2 separate regions of the Homo sapiens genome follow, and region 2 is linked to region 1. Evidence: promoter capture Hi-C in human tissues and cell types (Jung and others, 2019). All regions are on one chromosome and are shown on one strand. The core of a region is centred on a gene start or on the middle of the fragment in contact, and the rest is flanking DNA. Distances in the headings are between cores, read along the strand shown. Region 1 holds the start of DYNLRB1 (dynein light chain roadblock-type 1). Region 2 overlaps MMP24-AS1-EDEM2 (MMP24-AS1-EDEM2 readthrough).

Evidence for each region. The method cuts DNA at HindIII sites, captures the fragments that hold promoters and counts their contacts. A contact is called where the count stands out against the background at its distance.
Region 2: a fragment that was not itself captured here is called in contact with the fragment with the promoter of DYNLRB1 in region 1 in 1 of the 25 tissues and cell types used here (lymphoblastoid cells).

Annotation. Positions count from the first base shown.
Region 1 is chr20:34,513,682-34,519,978 of GRCh38, forward strand. It overlaps DYNLRB1 (dynein light chain roadblock-type 1), which reads left to right and starts at 2,741. Exons shown (of 4, transcript NM_014183.4): 1 at 2,741-2,780. The coding sequence starts at 2,778. RefSeq lists enhancers at 1,763-1,822, 1,933-2,172, 2,561-3,426, 3,093-3,272 and a silencer at 2,633-2,742. The HindIII fragment of the contact is 11,693 bases long and covers 1-4,013 here.
Region 2 is chr20:35,266,054-35,271,860 of GRCh38, forward strand. All of the region lies in intron 2 of MMP24-AS1-EDEM2 (MMP24-AS1-EDEM2 readthrough), which reads right to left. It overlaps MMP24 (matrix metallopeptidase 24), which reads left to right. Exons shown (of 9, transcript NM_006690.4): 6 at 1,152-1,366; 7 at 3,707-3,845; 8 at 5,516-5,782. Among named protein-coding and RNA genes, the nearest start is that of MMP24-AS1-EDEM2, 9.2 kb to the right of the region's middle. The HindIII fragment of the contact is 9,806 bases long and covers 1-5,807 here.

The sequences.
Region 1 (6,297 bases), core at 1,491-3,990:
CCAATGCACGGCTAATTTTTGTATTTTTAGTAGAGACGGGGTTTCCCCACGTTGGCCAGGCTGGTCTCGAACTCCTGACCTCAGGTGATCCGCCCGCCTTGGCCTCCCAAGTGTTTGGATTACAGGCATGAGCCACCGCGCCTGGCCCCAAAACTTTTAAAAATCCGTTCTCTCAGAGCTGACAACATTGCCACAGCCCACGTGCTTCCTCCCTAATCTGGCTGACCATAACAGCATCCTGTCTTCATTTTTCCATCCTCCTCGCTCCAGTATATCTTCTGTACTACCTCAGGATTATCTGTGGAAGACCTGTCTCATGCCTCCTCTACCTAAAATTTTACAGTGGTTTCTCCATTACCGCAGAATAAAACTTTTTTTTCTTTTTTTTGAGACGGAGTCTTGTTCTGTCGCCCAGGCTGGAGTGCAGTGGGGCGATCTTGGCTCACTGCAACCGCCGCCTCCTGGGTTCACGCGATTCTCCTGCCTCAGCCTCCCGAATAGCTGGGGTTACAGGCGCACACCACCACCCCCGGCTAATTTTTTGTGTATTTTTAGTAGAGGGGCTTTCACTATGTTGGCCAGACTGGTCTCGAACTCCTGACCTCGTGATCCGCCCACCTTGGCCTCCCAAAGTGCTGAGATTACAGGTGTGAGCCACTGCGCCGGGCCAAAACTCTAAGCCTGCCACTCCGGGACATTCTTGGTCCTATTCCAGCTCCTCCTTCATTCTCATTTTGGCTCCTGTCACATGAACTATTGGCCATTCTCTTTTTTGCTTCTGGGATTGTAATCTGTTAAAATCCTTTCACTCCTCTCAGTCTGGTTCTCCATGGGCAAGACAGTGGTGATTCTTCCAGTGCTTATCTTCCAGGATGTTTTAGGGTCCAGTCTCTGCAGCACTTCTTCCCCTTGCTAAATGCTTTCCTAATGTTTCCAGCATTCAATAGAAATTCCTTTGGATCCAGTCCTTTTAAAAATTTATTTTGAAATAATTTTACATTTACAGAGCTGTTGCAAAAATGGTTAAGAGTTCCTGCACAGTCTTCACCCAGCTTTCTCCAATGTTATGATCCCATATAACCATGCTAGAATTACCAAAACTAATAAATTAACACTGGTAAAAATAACACTAAACTACAGCCCTTACTCAGATTTCACCAATTTTCCCACCCATGTTATTTTTCTTTCTCCTTACTCCTCTAATCTGTGACAGTTCCGCATTCATTCCTTGCTTTCATGACTTTGAGATTTTGGGGGGCGGGGGCGGGGTACAGGTATCTTGTAGAACATCCCTCACACTGGATTTAGTGAAATTTTCTCATGGTTTAAGGCTGGGAGTTTTTGTGGAAAATGACTCGGAGGTGATGTGCCCTTAACGCATTTTTATCGGGGCACACGGCATCAATATCTCCCCTTGCCAGTAATACTAACTTTGATCTGGTTACGGTGGTGTCTGCTAGGTTTCTTCGCAGTAAAGTCAATCCTCTTAACATGCAGACACTCCTGGAAGGAGAACCAAATCCTTCCTCACTGAAGAGCAGCTACTGTGGAATGAAACTTTGGAGTTAGATCATCGTTGAATCCAGCAAGCTACAGTGCCTGGGAGAAACAGCATTTATAAAGTATCGAGGTTACCGATACTTCCCTGAAGCTACCGGAGATAACGTTATGTGCGTGTTCAGCACAGTAATGTGGCACAGGGTTCACTAAACGGCAGCATGTTTTAACAGAAGTTATTTACTCCTAGAGGACCCAGAAACGTTTGCGGCCTGCCGGAACAGGACAACATAGGGCTCTGGGAAGAGTCCCCCTTTCAGAGGTGAGAACAAGACAGAACACACAGATGTGAAGTGCCTTCTGCTAGGTAACGCGAGGCGGGGCTGAGCTCGGATTCTAAAGACTCCCAGGCCAGCCCTAACCAATTCATCTCCGAGCTTGCACGGCATCTTACCCGGAGACTCGAGGTACCTGACTCCAGCCCCACCCCAGGCCTGCCCGATCCCGAAGCGCATTTTGGCCCTGGGCCTCTCTCTGGCTCAGTCTGGGCGCAAAGCGGGTCTCAGCAACCGTCCCACTTGCCTTCATACCCTCCCACCACGCTCCACTCAGGGACTCCAGAACCAGCTTAGACCTCCATTGAGAGCTGAAAGCCTCTTCCGATACCGAGAACCAGCACTGAAAGCCTCTTCCGATACCGAGAACCAGCATGGTTTTTGTTTTGTTTTGTTTTAGTCAGGGTCTCTTGCTCTGTCGCCCAGGCTGGGGTGCAGTGGCGCAATCTCGGCTCACTGCAGCCTCGAACTCCTGGTCAGGCGATCCTCCTACCTCAGCCTCTGGAGTAACTGGAACTACACGAGCGCGCCACCACGCCCGGCTAATTTTGTTTATTTTTTAGTAGAGAAGGGGTCTCTCCATGTTGCCCAGGCTGGTCTCGAACTCTTGGGCTCAAGCAATCCTTCCGACTCGGCCTCCCAAAGTGCTGGAATTACAGGCGTAAGCCACCGCGTCCAGCCAGAACCAGCATCTTTTCTGCACGGCTGGAGTTGGGAATTTTCCACAGCTTAGCGCACTGCTCCTTAGCTTTTCGCTTTGCCACAGTGGAAAGCAGATTTTCCAAGAATCCTGGCGGAGCCAAGATCGGCTCGCCCGCCCCCGCCTCACGCTGGCTCCTGATAGGCAGCTAGAGCTGTCCGTTTTGACAGAAACCTTTGCGCAGGCGCAGAAAGGCACAGGACTCGCTAAGTGTTCGCTACGCGGGGCTACCGGATCGGTCGGAAATGGTGAGCGTGCGCCGGGGTCTTGTGGCTGGCGGCCGCCCACCACCCCACGCCAGGCCTTCAGTCTTCCGAGGATGAGGGGATCTCAGAGCTCCGGACAGGGAATCGGTGGTGGCTGGGCGTGGCCGGGCCCGGGCCCCAGCCGACTTGAGGGTGGAACCCGGCGGCGGAGGCCTCTAAAGCCTGACCGAGGCGGGGCCGCCGGATCCCGCTGCCCCTTGACCGGAAGCGGGAGCCCAGCCTCGGCCAGGAAGAGATGATGGGCGAGGGGTGGGCGGCGGCCCTGCAGCCTAGAGTTTTGGGGCCTTGGTGCGCGATGGCAACCCTGGCAACGTTTCCCGGGAGCTCAGTTTGTGGCAGGCTCTGCCAAGCACTTTATGTATCTTGTATTTCCTCCGCCTCCTCCCAGCTCTGTGAGGTAGATACAATCTTTAGTCCCATTTTGTTATACATATCTGTTATTCAGCGCCCCGAGAAGCCAAGTGCTTTGCCCCAGGAAATAGTGGAGATGGATTTGAACCCTAGAAGCTTGACGGCCGCCACTCTGTCGGCGTGGTTCTTTCTAGCCGCTGGGACTGGGTGCCAGAGTCAGGAACGGGCGGGGTCTGCTCTTGGGGATCCCAAAGCTTGCTTTCTACCTTGCTTGCTGCAGCTGTGGGTTCTCAACGCCGTTACAGGTTTTGTGTTTGTAATCCTCACAGCTTGGGCAAAATTTGAAAAAGTTTCAAATTTTAAGCCATGTGAATATATTACTTTTTCAAAAATCTTATTTAGAAATCTAGAGCTTGTAATAAAAAAATTGAAAAAAGAAACCGTGTCATCACCTAGAGGCAACCACTTACAGTAGTCATATGACTTCTAGTCTTTTTTGCTTGTTTTTGGTTTATACAGTTTAGCCCCTATTGAATGTGCAATTGTGGGTTCTGTGTTTTTCATTATTACACCACAATATCTCCACATCATTACAAACATGTAATAATGCTTCAAATATGTATAACTTCATTTTTCACATCACTTCTTAAGCTGTAAAAAAAATTGATATATAATAGTTGTACACATTTATGTTGTAGATATACATGTAATATTTTGATACATGCATATGATGTGTAATGATCAAATCAGGCTATATTTATTATAGAATATCCATCACCTTAAACATTCATTATTTCTTTTTTTTTTTTTTTTTTTGAGATGGAGTGTGTCTCTGTCGCTCAGGCTGGAGTGCAGTGGCACCATCTTAGTTCACTGCCACCTCCGCCTCCCAGGTTCAAGTGATTCTCCCGCCTCAGCCTCCCGAGTAGCTGGGACTACAGGCGCCCACCACCACGCCCAGCTAATTTTTTGTATTTTTAGTAGAGACGGGGTTTCACCGTGTTAGTCCGCCTCAACACGGTGGTCTCGATCTCCTGACCTCGTGATCTGCTCGCCTCAGCCTCCCAAAGTGCTGGGATTACAGGCGTGAGCCACCACGCCTGGCCCACATTTTCTTTATCCATTTACCTATTGATGGACGCTAATTCCATAATTTAGCTATTATGAATAGTGCTGCAATATGAACATGAGGATGTAGGGATGCCTTTGATGTACTAATTTCCGTTCCTTTGAATAAATACCCAGTAGTGGTATTGCTGATTTATGGTAGGTTTTTTTTTTCGTTTTTGTTGTTGTTTTTGTTTTGTTTTGTTTTTTCGATGCCTTTGTCGAAAATCAGTTGGCCGTAAATAAGTGGATTTATTTCTGGGTCCTCTATTCTATTCCATTGGTCTGTGTTTTATACCAATACCATGCTCTTTTGGTTACTATACCTTTCTGGTATATTTTGAAATCAGGTAGTGTGATACCTCAAGCTTTGTTCTTTTCGTCCAGGCTTCTTTTGGCTTTTCTGAGTCTTTTGTGGTTCCATACGAATTTTAGGATTGTTTACAGGTAATACTTGCACACAGTAAAAAAATAAATGATGTAAAAGGATCTAAGTGAAAAATAAAATTCCCACTCTCCTAACCCCCAGTCTCAGTCTCTCCTCCTTTAGAAACAACCATTGTTAGTTTCTTTTTTTTTTTTTCTTGCAAACTTGACCCTCCTGGGCTCAAGTGATCCTCCTGCCTTAATTCCCCAAGTATCTGGGACTACTGGTGCACGCCACCACACCCTGCTAATTTTTTTGTATTTTTTTTTTGTAGAGTTGGGGTTTTGCCATGTTGCCCAGGCTGGTCTTGAACTCCTGGGCTCAAGTGATTCACCCACGTTGGCCTCCCAAAGTGTTAGGATTACAGGCGTGAGCCACCACACCCAGCTGTTAGTTTCTTATGCATCTATACAAGCACTTATATGGCCCCCCTTTTTCTTACTTAAACTGTAGCTTTCTAGAACCTGTATTATGCTACTCCGTGGTTATACTCATAAAAGCAATGCAAATTTAGATGCCTAGTTTAACTTTTTTTTTTTTTCTTTTGAAACAGAGTCTTGCCCTTTCGCCCAGGCTGGAGTGCAGTGGTGTGATCTGAGCTCACTGCAACCTCTGCCTCCCGGGTTCGAGTGATTCTCCTGCCTCAGCCTCCGGAGTAGCTGGGACTGCAGGAGCATGCCACCATGCCTGGCTAATTTTTCTATTTTTGGTAGAGACAGGGTTTTTTTTCTATTTTTAGTAGAGACAGGGTTTCACCATGTTGACCAGGCTGGTCTCAAACTCATGACCTCAGGTGATCCGCCCACCTCCGCCTCCAAAAATGCTGGGATTATGGGCGTAAACCACCATGTATGTTAACAATTTGAAGCAGTACCAGAGGATATAATATAGAAAGTTTATGTGGTCCCCATCTTACTACCCCGTGGCAACTTCTGTTGGCAGTTGGGTGTGTTTCCTTCCAGATGTGTTTGGTGCATAAGCACATTTATGTATAAGCTGTTTATTAGATGAAACTGGAATATATATATATTTGTATATGTTAACTTTACTTTAAGGCTGAAGTGGAGAGATCGCCTGAGCCCAGGAGGTCAAGGCTACAGTGAGCCGTGACTGCACCACTGCACTCCACCCTGGGTGAGAAAAAAATAAGAGAAAACAGAAGTTGACTTTAAGATATATATGTATATATCTTATTCTGCAACTTGTTCTGTTCACTTAAAAATATCACACATTTTTCTGTGTTATTATATGCAGGTCCACTTCATTCTTTTTAAGGTCTGTATCGTATCCTAGTCCCATATGTACATTTAGGTGGTGTATAGTTTTTTTATTCCAGACACTGCTGCAGTAACTGTTCTTGTCTTTTTTGCACTCATGCTAGTGGTTATGTAGGATAGATTTCTACAAGTGGCACTTTTGGCTTGCATATTTTACATTTTAGGTGGAAACTGACCTTTAGAATAATGATATAAAAATCATCTATAATTGGCCGGACACAATGGCTGACGCATATAATCCCAGCACTTTGGGAGGCCAAGGTGGGCAGATCACTTGAGGTCAGGAGTTGGAGACCAGCCTGGGCAACATGGTGAAACTCTGTCTCTACTAAAAATA
Region 2 (5,807 bases), core at 1-2,500, 750 kb after region 1:
GGTATTGGGCGTGGTGGCTCACGCCTGTAATCCCAGCACTTTGGGAGGCCAAGGTGGGTGGATCACTTGAGGTCAGGAGTTCAAGACCAGCCTGGTCAACATGGTGAAACCCCATCTCTGCTAAAAAAAAAAAAAAAAAAAAAAAAAAATCACCTGGGTGTGGTGGTACGTGCCTGTAGTCCCAGCTACTTGGGAGGATGAGGCAGGAGAATCACTTGAACCTGGGAGGCAGAGGTTGCAGTGAGCTTAGATCACGCCACTGCACTCCAGCATGGGGGACGGAGCGAGACTCCTTCTCAAAAAAAAAAAAAAAAAAAAAAAAGTTGGAGAGCTGGCCTGGTGCTTCCTGAACATCCAGTTTGAAAAGCTCCCAAAGGTGATCCTAATATGCAGCCCAAGTGAAGAAGCACTGACCTAAGGATGAAAATGTAGAGACGGAAGAGAAGAGGACCCAAGGGCACGCCAGCCTCTAGAGTAGGGCAGATGAGGACACGCAGCCAGCAAAGGAGACTGAGAAAGAACAGCCCATGAGGCAGGAGGACAACCAAGAGAGTGTTTCCAGGAAAGTGTTTCTATGAATCTTGCTGCTCAAAATGTAGTCTTCAGACCAGCAGCATCAGCATCACCTGAGAGTGTGAAGGAATGCAAACTCTCAGGCCCCACCCCAGGCCCTCTGAGCCCTCATCTGCATTTTAGCAACATCCCCAGATGATGCATGTGCTTATTAAAGTCTGAGTCAAGTAACCATTGGATGATCTTGGCAGAGCAGTTGGAGTGGGTGACGGGTAGAAGCTGCACTGGGGTGGGAAAGAGAATAAATGAAGGGGGTGAGGAAGTGGGGCCAGTGCGTGTGAAGGGGGCAAAGAGGGTATGGCCTAAGGAAGAGCGCTGACCCTAAGGAAGGACATGATTGCTCTGTAACAGGAGAGAGAAAAGAGAAGATACCAGATTCGGGGATGGAAAGATGAGAGTCCCATTCTAATGGCTATTTTCATCCATTTTCTCAAAGACTGGGGGAGTTAAACTGGGGAGAGGGAACAGGAGGCTGAACTGGGACAGACTTGTCTCAGAGCTGCCTGGGTGATGCTGAGACTGGCAATGGGAGGCGGGAAACGGCTGCCCCCTCTCTAAGATGCAGCTCCTCTCTCCAGGACCCCCAGCCGAGCCTCTGGAGCCCACAAGGCCACTCCCTACACTCCCCGTCCGCAGGATCCACTCACCATCGGAGAGGAAACACGAGCGCCAGCCCAGGCCCCCTCGGCCGCCCCTCGGGGACCGGCCATCCACACCAGGCACCAAACCCAACATCTGTGACGGCAACTTCAACACAGTGGCCCTCTTCCGGGGCGAGATGTTTGTCTTTAAGGTAGGGCCAATGGATTGGCACCACCCAGCTGGCCCCTGACCTTTCCTCCTCCTCCCCGACATCATGGAGCTGGGGAAGGCTCCTGATTTGGGATTCGATTACAATGGGGCCTGGACAGGAGCTAGCCCAGTGGCCAGGGCATGGGGTCTCTTCCTAGTGCTGCTGGGTGAATCAACTGTTCCCAAGAGGGAGGGGGAAAGATGGGTGATCCCTCACCTCCCCTGGGGTTAATGCTGGGAGAAAGTGCTGGAAGCTGGCTTCTGGTCTGTGACCACCCTTCTTGGGACCTCAGTTTCTCCATCCGAAACCTGGGGGAGTCATTCCTCTAACAAAGAGTGTGTGAAGATCCAGTGAGTACCCGGCTCTGAAGATGGTCAACTTGGAGTAGGGGCTAGGTCAGTGGTGGCTGAGTCTGACTCCAGACCCTACCAAGGCTTGAGGGGCTGCTACTGGCAGCAGCCCAGGGTATATCTTGTCATCTGTCCTCCATCAGCCATGGACTGACAGGGTGGCAGTCTGCTTGACGTGTTGCAGGTTGGGCTCTCGGGGAGTGAACTCTGAGGTGGGGTCTGGAATGCAGGATTTCGATTAGAGAGTACTTTCAGAATCAACATTTGTGAGGGGGAGAAGGAAGCAGGACAGGGAAGAGGGAGAGGTTAAGTGGCAACAGAGGCCCATGGCAGCCTCAGCCACCCCCGCAGGGAGCTCTGGGGCTACGGTGGCCTGTCACTCAGCCTACGTTGGGTCCAAAATATCTGGAACATTATAACCCCTACCTCATTCAATCACTGGATGAGGAAGGGCATCCAGTGACTGAGGAGAGCTCTCTGAAGCAGGGAACATCCCCAAAGGGGCTGACAGTTGAAAACTGCCTGCTGGCCACACTGCTGGCCACTGGGGCAACAAGCCCTTCTCTGAAGGGGATCTGGGCAGGGTGGCTCCATCACACAGGATGGTGAAAGAGGCTGCCTCGCTCCCCTTGTGGAGTTCTCCCAGCACGCACTGAGCACTGCGCAGGAATCGGGCAGCGTGAGTCAGCCCCAGTCTGGCTTCTCACTGAGTGGCTCTAGGCAAGTCACCTGGCCTTTCTTAAGACTCCGTATATCTCAGATCAACTTAACAGAGACATGAAAGTCAAAATAAGGTCAAAAACCTGGATGTGAAAGTGCTTTGTAAAACACCTTTTAAAATACTAGCTTTTGTACCATCTTTTACAAATCATGCTTCTTCTTCTGCACTCATTCTACTTTGATCCAACTGAACCGTTCATAGGCAGGTCCGGGTTTTATCATCCCCATTTACACATAAGAAAACTGAGGCCTGGAGGCTGGGCGCAGTGGCTCACGCCTTGCAATCCCAACACTTTGGGAGGCCAAGGAGGGCGGATCATAAGGTCAGGAGATCAAGACCATCCTGGCTAACATGGTGAAACCCCATCTCTACTAAAAATATAAAAAATTAGCCGGGTGTGGTGGCGGGCGCCTGTAGTCCCAGCTACTCAGGAGGCTGAGGCAGGAGAATAGCATGAACCTGGGAGGCGGAGCTTGCAGTGAGCCGAGATTGCGCCACTGCACTCCAGCCTGGGTGACAGAGCGAGACTCCATCTAAAAAAAAAAAAAAAGAAAGAAAACTGAGGCCTGGAGGCTACAGGCCTTGCCTAGACTGCTTGTGTACCAGCCCAAGACTGAGGCACCAGTTACAAGAGGCGTTTTTACTGGACTCGGACTATTTAGCTGCCATTTACTCAACATGGACTGTGTGCCCCGTACTGGTCTGGGCATTTTGCCTAGAATCTCTCATCTGATTCTCCATTATTACCTGCACTTGCAGGTGAGGCCTAGGTCATGCAGCTATAAATGGAGGAATGTGAATTCATGCCCAGGTCTCGAGGGAATTCCCATGACTTGGCTTCCATGATCCTGGCCCTGCTGGATGGAGCCAGCCTCATGGAGGGCGCTCGGCCCAGGCTCAGTGACCACCCCAGCCTCCCACTGTCCCGAGGACCAGTCTGGCTGATGTCAGTGACGCTCCACTGCCCCCATGTGGCCACTCCAGGCCCCAACATCATCCTTTCCGGCTCCCTCACACCTCCTTTTCCACACCAGGCCTGTCTGCTGTTTGTCTCATTGTCCACCCAGCAGCAAGAGTCAGCAGGAGGCTGAATTGAAGACAGTTACAGGAGCATCCTGTCTTCCTCCCAGGGCTTTAAAAGTCAGAAGCAGCTAATGGACAGTCTCGGTGGAGGGCTGGGCTGTTGGGACCTAAGCCCCACAGCTGCAATCACTGGGTTCGGAGGCAGGGCCTGACACACCTCTCTCCCCCTCTCCCGCTTCCTCCCAGGATCGCTGGTTCTGGCGTCTGCGCAATAACCGAGTGCAGGAGGGCTACCCCATGCAGATCGAGCAGTTCTGGAAGGGCCTGCCTGCCCGCATCGACGCAGCCTATGAAAGGGCCGATGGGAGATTTGTCTTCTTCAAAGGTAATGTAGACTGTGCTGTGGGACAGTTCCCTGCCCAAGGTCTTGGGACCTCCTTTTTCCCATCTAAACTGGAAGAGGCGGGGTGGGAGGCAGATGTCCTCAGAGGGCCCCTCTAGTCTAACGGAGACACTGACCTCTGACAAATCAAGTCAGAAAGTGAGACTGAGAATCTGTATGTGCCGAGATTGGTGGGGTGACCAGCTTCGTCCACATGAAGTAGAGTGTGGGACAAGCAATTGAAGACCACCCAGTACCTCATGGGAGGCCATCGGGTCAGTTCTGTAAGAACCCAGAGGGAAGAGGTCACTCAAGCTGGGGAGGTCGGGGGAGGGTGTGGGAGGGAGCTAAGGTGCCCACCCTGTACCCAGCACTGTGCTAGGTTGTTTCATGACAGTTATCTTGACTCGGGCCAGACCTCAGATGGGTGAGATACAGATAGTGAGAAGCAAGGAAGGCATTCCAGAGGGACAACGGCTGAATAAAGGAGCAGGGCTGGGATGTGTACGGACGGCCACAGGGCTTAGAAGGCCCACCTGATGGCCACGGAGGCCCCGCCTTGGAAAGCTGTGAGAAATGGCCCAGAAAGGTCATTTGGAGGCAAATCCTGAAGAGCCCTGGCTGCCAGGCCAGAATGTGGTCTTGATCCATTAGGCCAAGGCTGGAAATTCATGGAATGTTTCCGAGCAGCAGAGAGCCAGAGGGCAGGAGGTGACAGACATGGCAGGGGCAGGGCAGCCATTTCTGAGGTGGTTCTGGAGCGCGCCACTCATGAGGCCCAAATGAGGGAGGAGCCGTGCAGCTGAAGGGCAGGGGACAGCTGCCAGGAGAGTCAGAGGGCCTCAGAAGTGGCTGAATACTCGGCCAGGCGCAGTGGCTCACGCCCGAAATCCCAGCACTTTGGGAGGCCAAGGCTGGCAGATCACCTGAGGTCAGGAGTTTGAGACCAGCCTGACCAACATGGTGAAACCACGTCTCTACTAAAATTACAAAAACTAGCCAAGCATGGTGGCACGTGCCTGTAATCCTAGCTACTCAGGAGGCTGAGGCAGGAGAATCGCTTGAACCCAGGAAGTGGAGGTTGTGGTGAGCTGAGATCACACCATTGCACTCCAGCCTGGGCAACAAGAGCCAAACTCCATCTTAAAAAAAAGAAGTGGCTGAATACTGAGAGGAGAAGGAAAGAGAGGGTCAACAGTGAGGCTAGGACTCCCTGTTGGGGACCTGGGAGGCAGAAGGTGATGAGGAGGGAGCCCCTCTGTGGTGCAGATGAGGAGCTCTGGGGAGCCAGCCAATGCAGAGCTGCCGGTAGGCCGAGGGAGGTCAGGGTTTCTGGCTCTGCTGCTCAGGTCCAGTGGGAGAGCCTCAGAGTCGGGTGTCACTGGTAGCAGGTTTGGGGAGTGGTAGTGCATATGCAAAGTCATGTAAGTGGCTGAGATCACCAGAGAGGAGAGAGGAGCAAGTCACATGAACAAAAGAGGGTGGGACTCGGAGCCCAGGCAGCAGAGGCAAGTTGTCCAGGATCTGTGACTGGCCTCAGGCTTCGTGCCCTTCCCAACTCTAACTGGGCCAAGGGGCTGAGGGCATCAGACTGTTTTCACCTGACACCCTGAAGATGGGCAAACGGCACTGAGTGACTGGGGAAGCTGATCCTGGGCTCCTCTTGGCCACAGGTGACAAGTATTGGGTGTTTAAGGAGGTGACGGTGGAGCCTGGGTACCCCCACAGCCTGGGGGAGCTGGGCAGCTGTTTGCCCCGTGAAGGCATTGACACAGCTCTGCGCTGGGAACCTGTGGGCAAGACCTACTTTTTCAAAGGCGAGCGGTACTGGCGCTACAGCGAGGAGCGGCGGGCCACGGACCCTGGCTACCCTAAGCCCATCACCGTGTGGAAGGGCATCCCACAGGCTCCCCAAGGAGCCTTCATCAGCAAGGAAGGATGTACGTAAGGGCCGGGCCAGGGTGG